Linked DNA regions of Homo sapiens: all the other regions are linked to region 1. The links are contacts of gene promoters, found by promoter capture Hi-C in blood cells and fetal thymus (Javierre and others, 2016). All regions are on one chromosome and are shown on one strand. The core of a region is centred on a gene start or on the middle of the fragment in contact, and the rest is flanking DNA. Distances in the headings are between cores, read along the strand shown. Region 1 holds the start of EEF1E1 (eukaryotic translation elongation factor 1 epsilon 1). Region 2 holds the start of MAK (male germ cell associated kinase). Region 3 overlaps TMEM14B-DT (TMEM14B divergent transcript).

Region 1 (4,745 bases), core at 1,652-4,151:
TAAAGTGAATCAGAATCTCCAGTATGGCATGGATTTTTTTTTAAATCCCCAGATGATTCATGCACAGATCTATTAGTTATGTGAATTTGGGCATGGAATTTAATACCCATAGTATATAAAATGGAATGTAGTAGACATTTGCCACAATCATGATGTGACAATCCACTTAAAAAAATTAACAGTTTATTAGTTGGAACCAGACTTGAAAAAAAGATTTATATATTGCAATTGGTTGACAGTTCCCTTATAATGCTTTCAACTTACAGGTTCACTTCTCTCTGCCTCTTCTTTTTGCTTTGCAATTTACTTGTTGAAACAACTGGATCATTTGTCCTATAGTTTTCATGATCTAGAATTTGCTCATTGCATCTCCATGACATCATTTAACATGATCCTCTTTCCTGCTATTATTTCTTGTAAATTGGCTGTTAGATCAAAAGGCTTGGTCAAATTCAGATTCGATTGGCAAGACTGGGTGATGATGTACACCTCTCTCAGAAGCAATTTATGTCTGTTTGTCTCTGTTTTTATGATGTGAATAGCTATTGATAATTGTCACCTAGATTCATTATTATATCCGTAGCTGCAAAACAATAATATTCTATTGTTCTGTTTTTATTAGTTAGAATTCTATAAAGACATTTTTCCTCATTAGAGTTTAGTTTCCCTGAGATACAGTTTACATAGGATAATCATGAAAAAATATATTGGTTTCTTCATGTGTTTTCTTTATCCTTTTTCAAAATAATGAATTGGATCTCTAGTATCCTCCAAAGGTAACGAATGAGGGTTATTTTGATTTTGTTCTTGTTTTTTTTTTAGTATCATTATGAACTCATAGACTTAAACATATTCAACATGTTTCAATTCATTGCAATTATTCTTATCGACTCTCAGCTTGTAATGACTATTATTGACCCTCAAGTGATCTGATCCTACCCTTTGACTCCCCTCATTACTCTTAGATACTTTCTTTTCTTTCTACTATAACTAGATGGTCCAGACTGATCTCCCCGCAAGGTTTGGATTCAGCCGGTCTCCAAAGAGCCCCCATTTCTTTTTGTGGGAAATAGTATTTGAAACCAGAATCTGGGTGCTGGGGTGCTCATTGCTACTGAGTTGTCCTTGTTTCTAGGCCTTTTAAGTAAACAGAGCTAGGTAGGAAATACTTTTCATTTTCCTTAAGATAAAAGCGTCATAAGTTCATATTGATATTACAATTCAAATTCAGGACCAGAAAGTTTTGATTTAACCTCATCTACCTTACAACTCCTCTTTTGGGCAACACCAAACACCCAACTTTCCAGCAACACCACATGATTGCATCTTTGCTTTATTCCACAGTACATATACAGCACCATACCAATGCTGACACTGCCAAGATGCTAACCAAACCAACAAACAAAAAGAACCAAAAACAGGTTTTCATGAATTTTGTCCTTAAAGCATATCTTACTAAGAGTATACAATTAAATGACTGTGCTATAAAGTCACTTAAAAGAGGTCCACACTGGGTGATGATGTCATCAATTTGATGTACAATATGCTTTGTTCTGCTTTCAGTTTTTTAGGGATTTCTTTTTTAATTTGATATTTCTATAATTATGCAAAGGCCAAACCTTATTTTCAATATACCACCCATTGGCATTGGATAAATGTTAATTTTTTTAAAAAATGTTTTATTACAAGCAAAAAGTGTACCTAAACCCTGAAAATGGATATGTGAATTATCTTAGAGGGTTGGTCTTTTAAAAAGTAGTAGAATAGTCATTCCATTATCTGAATATGGAAAGTAAAACAGATAATTTAGTGCCTAACAATCCACTTATACTGAAATTTCTTTTGTATTTTGTTATGTTGATTTGGCAAAAGTTTCTTTTCCTTATGTTTACTTCTGCTGACAGAGTAAACTCATTAAGTATTCTGGGATAGGGAAGGTGTAACACAGTAACAACATTCCCCACTAAACTTTGATATTTCTGATTCAATGATGAGTTACCTTGTAGGATTGTTCTATTTCTCTCAGACTAATACACACTTTGTTTATTCATTCTTCAAAGTGGAAAATATTTTGTATTTTCACAAATCTTTTGGAAATATTCAACATATACTACTAATTTTCTTTCTTTCTTCCTTTCTTTCTTTTTTGAAGATACAAGAATGTAGCAAGTTAGTGGGGCAAAGTTATGCACCTTGTTTATTTATATACCAAAACTTCATAAATTATGTAACCAGCCTTCTGGTACTGCAAAAAAAGATCATTAATGCCATTAATGGCTTATTTCCTTGAGCTGTAATTATTTGACCCCTATCTGACATACTCCGTGTTCTGTGAATAATCTTTAAATGTATAATTCTACTGCTAGTGTTGAGCTGTAGATCAACAGTAGAAAAACCAGTTTTTCGAATTCACCACTACAACACAATTAAAATCCTCATGAATTATGCTACACGTTAGAAACTCCTAATGGACTGTGAACTTTTTGCTATTCAATTTGATTGTTCAAATTTACAGATTCCTGAACCAAACTAAGGCAAATTTCAGTTCCCATCATATATAAATTCTCTTAGACTAGCAAATGAGTTAACGAGTTACCGCTGGCAGCCATGTCAATAGATTGCCATTTAGAGATCCAGATCCAGTCTACTGCAGCCACCGAAGCCCGGCCTTGGGGCCTTTCTACCAGTAACTAGCTCCCCAACAGTTCGAGTGGAAATTTACCATCACTTCTCCACCTGTCTCACACCCCGCCCTCAGCCCCGCCCCTTCCACCGGCCCCGCCTCCTGTGCTTTGGCGCGCGCTCTCCACGCCCCTTCCGTTCAGCCAATCGCCGCTGAAGTTTGCAGGAGTGGGACTTCTGTTTCCACCAATGCGGGAGGTTCTTGTTCTGCAGGTCTCGCGTCTGCCAGGAGCTACGGCCGGAAGATGGCGGCGGCCGCAGAGTTGTCGCTACTGGAGAAGTCCCTGGGACTGAGTAAGGGGAATAAATACAGTGCTCAGGGCGAGCGACAGGTGAGAAGGAGAGGCGGCGCGGAGGGGAAGAGGTGGACGGGAGCGGGGCCTGCCGAGCCCTGGCAGGACCCGGGCCGGCCACCAGATACGGGCGGAGTGAGGATGCTGCTACCCAGCTCCCCACGTGTCTGCGCCGCTAGCCGGCTGGCGCCTCTGGGCCTCGGCCCCTGCCATCCTACCTCCTGGAGGGAGGGGTTAACCAGCTCAGGTTGGGCTTGGCCTGAACTTCACCTCCTGGGAAATTGTCATCATCCCATTATGAGGAAACAAAACCAGTTGGAGGAGGGTCCTCACAGGGCTCTTAGACCAACCTGGAATGTATTCAGTAACTGGCTTTTTTTTTTTTCCCGTAATCGCACCTTTCATTCAGTTATTGCGCAGCGACTCCGTTATAGCTAACAGGGTGCCAGGTAGCACCGTGCTGGGTCTGGGGAATACAATGATGATTTAGGGGAACATGCTTCCTCCTCTCAGGCAGCTTGCTTTTTGGCCAGGTGGACAAACATTGCAACCATTTAAATTGGAAGAGTGCCACGTTGCACCATAAATGGCAGAGAGAACACCTAAGGAGTCTTGGCCCAATCTAGGGGATTCGGGGAAGGCGTTTCTAAAGCCTTGGATTATCAGTTTAAGTGTTACGACCCACAGTGAATGCGGGAAACATCACAAGGTATGAGATTGCCTGGTTAGGCACTGTTAGAACGTTTGTGTTTTATAGTTGTTTGTCGTAGAAGGAATGTATTAGAGAAGGAAATTGGTTGTAGGAAGACTACTTTGGATATATGTTTTTTTTGCTCCTTTGAGATTTTTTCCAAATGATGTTTGGTTTTTGTCTTTAATTTTTTCTCTTCTTCATTTGGTCCATGTGAAGATCTTGTCTAGAAAGTAGTAGTATAGTTTTTATTTAAGTTAACCTGAAGCCTAGAAAGGTTAAGTGTTCAGCCTAAGATCAGCCCTGTGATTGGTGGCAGAGTAGGCGTTGGAGCCAAAGTGGCCTTCTTTTGGTGTTTCCTCTGCCCCAGTGATAATTCCGTCCCTTCGGCCCCTACTCCCTAGCTTAGTGTATATATTATATAATATATATGTAGTATAAATATAATATATATGGCCGAGTGGACAAACATTGCAACCGTTTAAATTGGAAGAGTGCCATATATATATATATATATATATATATATATATATATATATTTTTTTTTTTTTTTTTTTGAGACAAAGTCTCACTGTGTCGCCCAGGCTGTAGTGCCATGGCATGATCTCGGATCACTGCAACCTCTGCCTCCCGGGTTCAAGCGATTCTTCTGCTTCAGCCTCCCAAGTAGCTGGGGTTACAGGTGTTCGCCACCACGCTCAGCTAATTTTTGTATTTTTAGTAGAGACCGGGTTGCACCATGTTGGCCAGGCTGGTCTTGAACTGGTGACCTCAGGTGATCCACATGCCCTGGCCTCCTAAAGTGCTGGGATTACAGGCGTGAACCACTGTGCCTGGCCTAGTTTATATTTTTTAGGGACCATTGCCAAGATATGAGTATTATCTAGTATGAGAAACAATCATCAGCAAATAATTTAAAGCACAACATAGTAAGCACTTCATGGACTGTCGTGGGTGAGCAGCAACTCTCTGGGGCTGGTGGCGCCAGGGTAAGAATTTACCAGGACAGCTGTACGTAAAGAAAAGCAGATTTATTAGAGAAAGTATGAAAATATGTTGCAAGAGTGCAACAGGCAAGT
Region 2 (4,745 bases), core at 1,328-3,827, 2.7 Mb before region 1:
CCTCACCCCTACTCTTTCTTTCTCCACTCTTTAGAGGATGGAGTTTTCCAGAATCCCATCCCTTCTTTCTTCTTACTGTTTATTTCATCTATATCCATGATTTCATCCACAGTATCCCAACATATCTGTATTTCTAGCTCTAAAAGAACCCTAAGTTGCAAATCTATATTACAAACTCCCTTCTTGTAATCTGCATAAGGATTTTTCTCAATTCAAAAATTTCAAAACTGGGCTTGTTATCTCTCACATCCTCCATCCCTAAATCAGCTCCTCCTCTATTATTTTCCAACTTGGTCATGGATACCACTATCCACCAGTCATCTAAGCCTGATGGTCCTGCCGATTTTAACTCCTAAACATCCCTTGAATTCTGTCTTTCTCTGTCCTATTTCCATCATCACTGCTAGAGTTGGATCCTTATCATTTCTTCCCAGTCAGTTGGGAGAAAGACTCCCAATCTTTCTCTTGCCTCCAGACTTGCAGCTCAAATCCACCCTACCCACTGCTCCTCTTGGGATCTTTCTGAAATGCAAATGTGAACATGTCACTCTTCTGTGGGAGATTCTTCACTGGTCTTCCTCATTGACACATGTTAAAGCTTAGGCTTCATAACTGGGTATATAAAGCTGCTATGACCTATCTAACTTATGCTTTTTACTTTGCCTGCCTACTTCACTTATTTATTGGAGAGCAATGAATCTTTTATTTATTATTATTATTATTGAGACGGAGTTTTGCTTTTGCTGCCCAGGCTGGAGTGCAATGGTGTGATCTCAGCTCACTGCAACCTCCGCCTCCTGGGTTCAAGCTATTCTCCTACCTCAGCCTCCCAAGTAGCTGGGATTACAGGCATGCGCCACCACGCCTGGCTAATTTTTTGTAGTTTTAGCATTTTAGTAGAGATGGGGTTTCTCCAGGTTGGTCAGACTGGTCTCAAACTCCCGACCTCAGGTGATCCGCCCACCTCGGCCTCCCAAAGTGCTGGGATTACAGGCATGAGCCACCGCGCCTGGCCATTTATTATTATTATTATTTTGAGACAGAGTCTTGCTCAGTCACCCAGGCTGGAGTGCAGTGGCACGTTCTCCGCTCACTGCAACCTCTGCCTCCTGGGTTCAAGTGATTCTCCTGCCTCAGCCTCCCGAGTAGCTGGGATTACAGGCATGTGCCACCACACCCAGATATTTTTTGTATTTTTAGTAGAGATGGGGTTTCACCATGTTGGCCAGGCTGGTCTTGAACTCCTGACCTCAGGTGAGCCACTCACCTGGGCCTCCCAAAGTGCTGGGATTACAGGCATGAGCCACTGAGCCCCGTCTGTTTTTAAATGTTTATTTCAATAGCTCTTGGGGTACAAGTGGTTTTTTGTTACATAGATGAATTATATAGTGGTGAATTCTGAGATTTTAGTGCACCCATCATCTGAGTAGTGTATATGGTACCTAGTGCATAGTTTTTTTTATCCCTAGGCTCTCTCCCATCCTCCCCTTTCTGAGTCTCCAAAGTCCATTATTTCACTGTGTATGCCTTTGCATACTCATAGCTTGGCTTTTGCTTATAAGTGAGAACATACAGTTTTTGGTTTTCCACGCCTGTATTACTTTGCGTAGAATAAGGACCTCCCACTCTTCCAAGTTGTTGCAAAAGACATTATTTCATTCTTTTTTTGTGACTGAGTAGCAGCCTATGGTGTATATATACCACATTTTCTTTATCCACTCATTAGTCAATGGGCACTTAGATTGGTTCCACATCTTTGCAATTGTGAATTGTGCTGCCATAAACATACGCGTGAAAGCCTACTTCACTTTAAGCTGTGAGGGCCACAGGCATGTCTGTCGTGTCTACCTTGGCGCTATTCTTGGTCCCAAGCCCACATCCTGACACCTAATAATTACTAACTTGCCGCACCACTGCTTCATCACTTATGTTTCTGTTTCGTAGACCCTTTTTGCCAGCCAATCTGAACTATTTGCAGTAACACAAGTGTGCCTTCCTCTCTAAATTCTAGACTAGTTACAATTTACCCATTTATTCACACATTCAGTCATTTTTCTTGGAATTACCACTATCTAACTCTGTGGCTGATACTAGGCAGGTTCTCTGAATGAATAAATGGAAACAAACTTAGAAGGGCAGCTCAAGAGGTAATACATACCCAAGGAATTGACCAATTTAAGGAACTGCATACAAGAACAGTTTTTCCCCAGGCACAAGTAAACAAGTGCAAGTATGAGGCAAACAGACTTCCTTCTCTTGCTCTGCCCGGTCTGGGAACCATATTTTAATTAATCAAGACTTTGTAGAATGAATCGGAACAAAACCAAAACAAAATAAAGGGCAAACAAACCAACTTCTGACAAAGACCTGACTGAAAAGGTAATCAACTCCCCTAAACCCCAAGTCTAAATGGCACACTTGCTGCAGCTCAGCCGACAGTCCCCCGGCTCCATGAAGCCCCGCCCCGGGGAAGGCGGGGCCTGCGGGAATTGGCGGGGATTTCCCGCGAGGCCACGCCCTCTCTGGGCCGGCCGTAGGCCCGCCTGCTGCCCCCGCCGTTTCCTAGGAGATGAAACACACAAGACGCCGGAGCTTCACAAGGGAGCGAACGAGGTAAGCAGCAGGCGCGGACAGGTAATCCCCAGCGGGCTGCAGGGCCACCACCCTCTGTCCGACCCAGCCGGAGCCCGACCTGCGAGGCTGGCCGGGCATGTCCCCTCGGCGCCCTGTGCTACCAGGGCCAATCTCCGCCCGGAGACCGGTCCCTGACGCCGGTAGGGGAAGGACTGGAGGGAGGAGGGTCCCCGGAGGGGCGGAGCGGGCGGGAGTGGTCAGCCCGAGGGAAGGCGGTCGGTGTCTCCCAGACCTCTTGACCACTTTCCCGCCTCCTGGACCGCGGGGGCCGGCCTGGCGTGGGAGGATGACGGCCGGGCGTCCCTTAGCCTGAGACCCCCGCCCCTAAACTCTCCTCCGGGATCTCCCACCTCTGCTCCCCTGCTGCTTGGGCTGGCGGTGGAAACTGTTTTTAGGACAGAGAGGCAGGATTGGGTCTCAGGGAGGCAGCGGAACTGAGTTCAGAACTGTTGCAAAATCTAAAAGGAGGGAGAAAAACAGGAATTAGGTCCGACTCCAGCCCTCGCTGGTGCATCCCAAAGGACGCTCAGGTGAAAGTGGAATTCCGCACACCCCCGTCCCCCCCAACGGCGCCGGACTCCCGGCGCCCGGGGACGCCCCCTCCTTCCACCACGCGGTCCCTGGAGCCTTTTAAGAGCCCTGGTTTGCAGAGTCGGATCAGAAAGTGTGTGACGAAAACTGTCCCTTTTCTGCAAGTAATCCGTTTTAATTTAGGGACAGGTCGAGAGTGCGGTGTCGAGAGCAATAAAACTGGTTTTTAGTGGTTAGTAATCTCAATCCTACAAGGAAAGAGCTGTATGCAAATGTGGTTAGATAATCGTTTAAAAGAAACAGACATTTGTTCTAATGATAACGGAATTCTCAAAGAGGGAAGCCAAAGTTATCTGACTTTATTTATTCAGAAACACAACCCATTAAGTGAAATAATGGTGAAAACAAAAGTGACTTTCCAGCTTTTCGATCGGGCCCCGCCTCCCCGGCCCTTCAATTCCCGAGGCTTGACCGGGAGGGAGAAAGTTCCCCCAACCGCGCCACCGCCTGCTTCCACTGCAGGCACCGGGCAGGACGTTTAATCTCTTCGTCGGGGTGGACTTTTTTTGTGTATAAGCTTTGAAATAATTTGTGAATATGAGCACAGAGAACTGTGCTTTTATATTTTAAGATACAGTCTTTGTTTTCCCATTGTAATAGCTCATTTAATTTCTGTAAAACTTCGACTTGGTTAGTTTGGGATCTTTTTTTCCTGCGTTGCTTTTTAAAGAGTTTGGTGACTTTTAAAACGTTAATTACTCTTTTGTTGTGTATTAGAAGCGTTAAGCCAGCCTCGGAGTGACATAATATGTTCTAGAAAGCCACGTTGAAGACATCCAAGCCTTATCTCTTCAGTTTTTGGCAGACGCTTGTTTTACCCTTCATTTGCCCTCTTTGCTAATCTTCTTTAATCCTATCTGAATCTCTTATTAGCTGGCAAAAGCTGTTGAGAGTAAAGGCTATATTTACAACAATTGTGCACTTAGAGAAACGGTAATTATGAACTTAGATTAAAAAGTTGAAAACTAGAATGAGAGATAAATTATAAGGGTATTTATTTTTGTGTAGGTCTATAATTAAGCCTCTAAATAAGCATCTTTTTCTTTAACCCATAGGAAGGTCAATAAATGTTATAGCTTGATTGTAGAAAATTCCAAGTTTTTAACAATTCTGTTAAATTGAGGATGATAGTTATATTTACTTGGGTTTTTTGTTGCATATGTATCATATCTATATATATTCATGTACATAAGAAACTGTGTTAATATATTCCTATTTTGTAGATTAGTTTTCCATAGGTCAACAGAGAAGAATATATGTAACTTGTAGAGAAATATTATTGTGCGTGAACTGGAGAACCATGGGAAGCCTGTGTTTAAGGAACATAGACTGCTTTTTGATTAGTAATCAGTAGTTGCTATGCCACATTGATAAAAGTAGTTGCTTATGTGCTATCAGGGAGCAGGGACATGGAATAATGATTTTTTAAAAGCTTTACCTTGATGTCTATGTCTCTACATTAGACAATTGTATGTTCAGGGGATAGAAGGAACAGTTGCAATGATCAGCGTCTCACCCTG
Region 3 (4,745 bases), core at 570-3,069, 2.6 Mb before region 1:
ATAGGTTTGTTTGAAGAGCAAGGTCAATAACTCTTTCCCCAAGAAATAAATGAAATCATAAAAAAAAAACCGCCTATTTTCTTAACCTAACCTATCTGCCATCTACTTCTGGATCATATTCATTGGAGCCATAAAAATATTAGCAGAAGCATATGCAGTTCTTATTATCTGCCACTGTTGGAAGCGCTTTACATATGTTAACTAACTTACACTTCATACCAACTCTGTGCAGTGACGACTATGATTATCTCCTGCTTTACACATGGAAGAAATTGAGGCACAGACTACAAGGTCACACAGCAAATGGCAGAGCTGTCCTAACTCTGCATTTGTTTCTTGCAGTGAAGAGTCTTTTTTCTGTCTCTTAGTCTGTTCTCAACACAGTGACCAGAGCACTTGGGTTAGAAGTCTGACTGTGCCATTTCTCTCCCCAAAACCCTCTGGTGGCACCCCTTTTCTCAGGCAGTGCTTTGCAAAGCCCCACACATCCTCCTCCCTGACATCAGCATCTTCTCTTTCCCCCTCACTTGTGTTTCCTTCTTGCCCTCAGCTGCTTCATCTGCCTGGAACGCCTCCCCAGACAATCTCCTGGTTCACGCCCTCTCCTCCTTTCTGTCTTTACGCAAATGTCACTTCTCAGAGAGACCTTCCCTAATCACCTGATTTAAAACTTCAACTCATCTGCATTTCCCCCGACAGCATCTTTCCTTCCATGACAATTCCCTGCTAACCTGCTCTGTAACTGGCTTAATCATCGTAGAGCCTACCTCCCCCTTTTTTGCATGTTTGTTTCATGGGAGTGATGATATTTATGCAGCATTTAGCACAGTGCCTGGCCCATAACCAGTACTCAGTAAACATGTGTTGAATGGACAAGTAGATGTGGAGTGAGAAATGAGAGGGGTGGTCGGCAGACAGGAGAACAAAGGCCACATGTACAGTTTGCCCTGGCTGTACCCTGGCTCTGGTTCTTCCTGCCTTGGCCTCAGCCAGATACACCTGTGTCCTTCTCATGTACTTACCCCCACGTCCTCTGTTGAAGCTTAGGACATCCAGAGTTGCATTTGTTTCTTGCAGTGAAGAGTCTTTTAAAATCTGAAATAGGCTGTGAGCGGTGGCTCACGCCTGTAATCCCATCACTTTGGGAGGCTGAGGCACATGGATCACCTGAGGTCAGGAGTTCGAGACTAGCCTGGCCAACATGGTGAAACGCTGTCTCTACTAACAATACAAAAAAAAAAAAATAGCCGGGTGTGATGGTGCACGCCTGTAATCCCAGCTACTCAGGAGGCTGAGATGGAAGAATCGCTTGAACCTAGGAGGCAGAGGTTGTAGTAAGCCGAGATCACTCTACTGCACTCCAGCCTGGGTGACAGAGGGAGACTCCATTTCCAAAAAAAAGAAAAGAAAAATGAAAAATTGAGTTGACATCATGGGCCCTGTGTCATTCAAAAACTCAACATTTCACTAATCAGTCAAGCTGCCCATGACTGCCCCAGGCCATTGCATTCAATATGTTAATTTATTTACCAAAGCTGTGTCTTTCAGAAGGGTTGTGTTTTTCCTTTTAGCCCTCAGAATCTAGGATAGCACCTGGCACACATGGTGAGCACTCACTTCATGGCTGTCGGATAAACAATGGAGCAAGGAAGGTGGAGATGGATGCTTACACATGGGGAATTGTATCAGGAAGGAGTGTATGTGTGATTAAAACCTGTTCTACATAAATAGAAAAGTTGATCATTCAACACATGGACGGCTAAGACTATATGCAGACTATCCATTCTCAGGAAGAAAAGGGAAGCAATCTACCTGACTTCCCCAAATGGATTCCGTATTTTGATATGAATTGTTATCATGTGGGAAATGCGATGGCCTCCAGGTATACTACCTCAGAGATCAGTGAGCAGAAAAGCTCACAGATCAAATTAAAATGCTTGAATCTCTTAGTTTATTTAAATCAATTTAAAGAGACAGTGAAAAGCAAGAGGAAAGAGATGGGATAAGTAAACGCTGTCAAGAGACGGTGCAAATCTGGTGGAAGATGCCTGCTACCTAAAGCCTACCTCATACAATGTTCAGGGGCCACCATCCCCCACCTGCCCCAACCTCCACCCCTCTCTGTGATATTGACTTTCCTGTGGATCGTGGTGCTGAAGACGACAGGTTTGAGCAAGGAGACTCAAAGAGGCAAGGTGCCCCACGCCAATGACACAAACTTGCTCTGTCCGAGATGCAGGTACAAGCAAGCCTAGCAAAGAGCTGAGCTTTGCCTGTTGGCCTGTGGAGCAACCATGGGTTTTACTGTGTTTCTTGGACAGAGGACACTTGGGGACAGAAGTGAATAGCATGACTATTTCATGCTTATGTATATTTTATGCACTGTATTTAGTGCCTCTTGGACATTTAATGTATCAAATATTTCATGCTCAGGTGTCTCATGTATACTTGGTAGCTAGGAATGTTAGGTATCCTGGACTTTCTATTCCTTTCTGTGTCTAACACATGTTCTACTTACTACTTAACACATCTAATAAAATCTGCCTATGTTTTAAAAACTAAGATTTATCTATACTTAACTTGTACTAAAAGCTTTCCCCTGTATTTCACAAACATATTAATCTTCCTTAAAAGTATTGAATACTCCCAAAAACAAATGTATATTCCAACTTTTTATTTTCAAATGCCACATTAAAAAAACACCCTCTGGCTGGGCGCAGTGGCTCATGTCTGTAATCCCAATATTTTGGGAGGCCAAGGCAAGCAGATCACTTGAGGTCAGGAGTTCGAAACCAGCCTGACCAACATGATGAAACCCAGTCTCTACAAAAAAAATAAGATTAGCTGGGTGTGATGGTGGATGCCTGTAGTCACAGCTACTCAGGAGGCTGAGGCAGGAGGATTGCTTGAGCCCAGGAGTTCAAAGCTGCAGGAAGCTATAATCATGCCACTGCAAAAGGTGACAGAGACCCCGTGTCTTAAAATAGACTTAAGCCAGTTTAAGCCTTTCAGTTAAATGTCCCATGAAGAATTCTGTTTTGAGACTGAGTGTTGCTCTGTCACCCACGCTGGAGTGCAGTGGCGCGATCTTAGCTCACGGAAACCTCTGCCTCCCGGGTTGAGCGATTCTCCTGCTTCAGCCTCCCAAGTAGCTGGGATTACAGGCACATGCCACCATGCCCTACTAATTTTCTTATTTTTACTAGAGACAGGTGTTTCAGCATATTGCCCAGGCTGTTCTCAAACTCCTGACTTCGTGATCCACCTACCTCAGCCTTCCAAAGTACTGGGATTACAGGCGTTAAGCCACAGCTCCCGGCCCCCACCAAGAATTTTAAACAGCTGATACGAATGTGTCCAAATATTGGTTCCTTCCGGTGGGTTCTTGGTCTCGCTGACTTCAGGAATGAAGCCACGGACCCTCACGGTGTTTACAGTTCTTAAAAATAGTGTGTCCACAGTCTGTTCCTTCAGCTGTTTGGATGTGTCTGGAATTTCTTCTTTCCGCTGGGTTCAGTGACCTGCACAGGCCTCAGGAGTGAAGCCACAGACCTTCGCCGTTGACTGTTAACAGCTCTTAAAGGTGGTGCATCCAGAGCTGTTCATTCCTCCCCTGTGGGTTCATGGTCCCGCTGGCTTCAGAAGTGAAGCTGCAGACTTTCGCAGTCAGTGTTATATAGCTCATAAAGGCGGAACGTCCACAGTTGTTCATTCCTCCCTGTGGGCTCATGGTCTTGCTGGCTTCAGGAGTGAAGCTGCAGACCTTTGCAATGAGTGTTACAGCTCTTAAAGATGGCACCTCCAGAGTTGTTCGTTCCTCCCAATGGGCTTGTCATTTACGCTAGTGTCAGGAGTGAACCTGCAGACTTTTACAGTGAGTGTTACAGCTCATAAAGGCAGTGAGGACCCAAACAGTAACCAGCAGTAACAGCAGTAAGATTTATTGCAAAGTGCAAAGGAAGAAAACTGCAACAGCATGGAACAGGACTGATAGGAGAGTTGCCACTGCTGGCTCGGGTGGCCTGCTTTTGGCCCCTTATTTGGCCCCACCCACATCCTGCTGATTGGTCCATTTTACAGAGTGCTGATTGGTCCGTTTTACAGAGTGCTGATTGGTGCGTTTACAATCCTTTAGGTAGACACAAAAGTTCTCCAAGTCCCCACCTGATTAGCTAGACACAGAGTGCTGACTGGTGCGTTTGCAAACCTTTAGCTAAACACAGAGTGCTGATTAGTGTGTTTATAATCCTTTAGCTAGACAGAAAAGTTCTCCAAGTCCCCACCCGACCCAGAAGCCCAGTCGGCTTCACCTCTCAGGAATATCTGCATTATACTCAACTTTGCTGTAATATGCATTCCCTAGGAACTGAGTAGAATTAAATAACATGGAAGCTTCATCAAGTCGCTTTTTTTTTTTTTTTTTTTGAGACAGAGTCTCACTCTTGCCCAGGCTGGAGTGCAGTGGCATCATCTCGGCCCACTGCAACCTCTGCCTCCCGGGTTCAAGTAATTCTCCTGCCTCAGCCTCCCAAGCAGCTGGGATTACAGGCGCCAGCAACCACACCCGGCTCATTTTTTTATCTTTAGTAGACACCGGGTTTCACCGTGTTGACCAGGCTGGTCTTGAATTCCTGACCTCAGGTGATCCACCTCCCTCTGCCCCCCAAAGTGCTGGGATTATAGGTGTGAGCCACCGCACCCAGCCTCAAGTAACTTCATTATCATAAGGTGATCCTACATTGATT

What was found. The method cuts DNA at HindIII sites, captures the fragments that hold promoters and counts their contacts. A CHiCAGO score of 5 or more calls a contact.
Region 2: a contact is called between the fragment with the promoter of MAK here and the fragment with the promoter of EEF1E1 in region 1, in 1 of 17 cell types (non-activated CD4 T cells). The highest score is 7.2, in non-activated CD4 T cells.
Region 3: a contact is called between a fragment that was not itself captured here and the fragment with the promoter of EEF1E1 in region 1, in 1 of 17 cell types (naive CD8 T cells). The highest score is 6.6, in naive CD8 T cells.

Annotation. Positions count from the first base shown.
Region 1 is chr6:8,100,704-8,105,448 of GRCh38, reverse strand. EEF1E1 (eukaryotic translation elongation factor 1 epsilon 1) reads left to right here and starts at 2,901. Exons shown (of 4, transcript NM_004280.5): 1 at 2,901-3,014. The coding sequence starts at 2,928. EEF1E1-BLOC1S5 (EEF1E1-BLOC1S5 readthrough (NMD candidate)) reads left to right here and starts at 2,854. Exons shown (of 7, transcript NR_037618.1): 1 at 2,854-3,014. RefSeq lists silencers at 2,649-2,848, 2,989-3,108, 3,317-3,502. The HindIII fragment of the contact is 8,997 bases long and covers 1-4,745 here.
Region 2 is chr6:10,836,371-10,841,115 of GRCh38, reverse strand. MAK (male germ cell associated kinase) reads left to right here and starts at 2,577. Exons shown (of 15, transcript NM_001242957.3): 1 at 2,577-2,613. RefSeq lists enhancers at 1,895-2,054, 2,105-2,164 and a silencer at 2,385-2,514. The HindIII fragment of the contact is 3,144 bases long and covers 601-3,744 here.
Region 3 is chr6:10,741,141-10,745,885 of GRCh38, reverse strand. TMEM14B-DT (TMEM14B divergent transcript) reads left to right here. Exons shown (of 2, transcript NR_187231.1): 2 at 1,572-2,562. Among named protein-coding and RNA genes, the nearest start is that of TMEM14B-DT, 4.1 kb to the left of the region's middle. The HindIII fragment of the contact is 1,550 bases long and covers 1,045-2,594 here.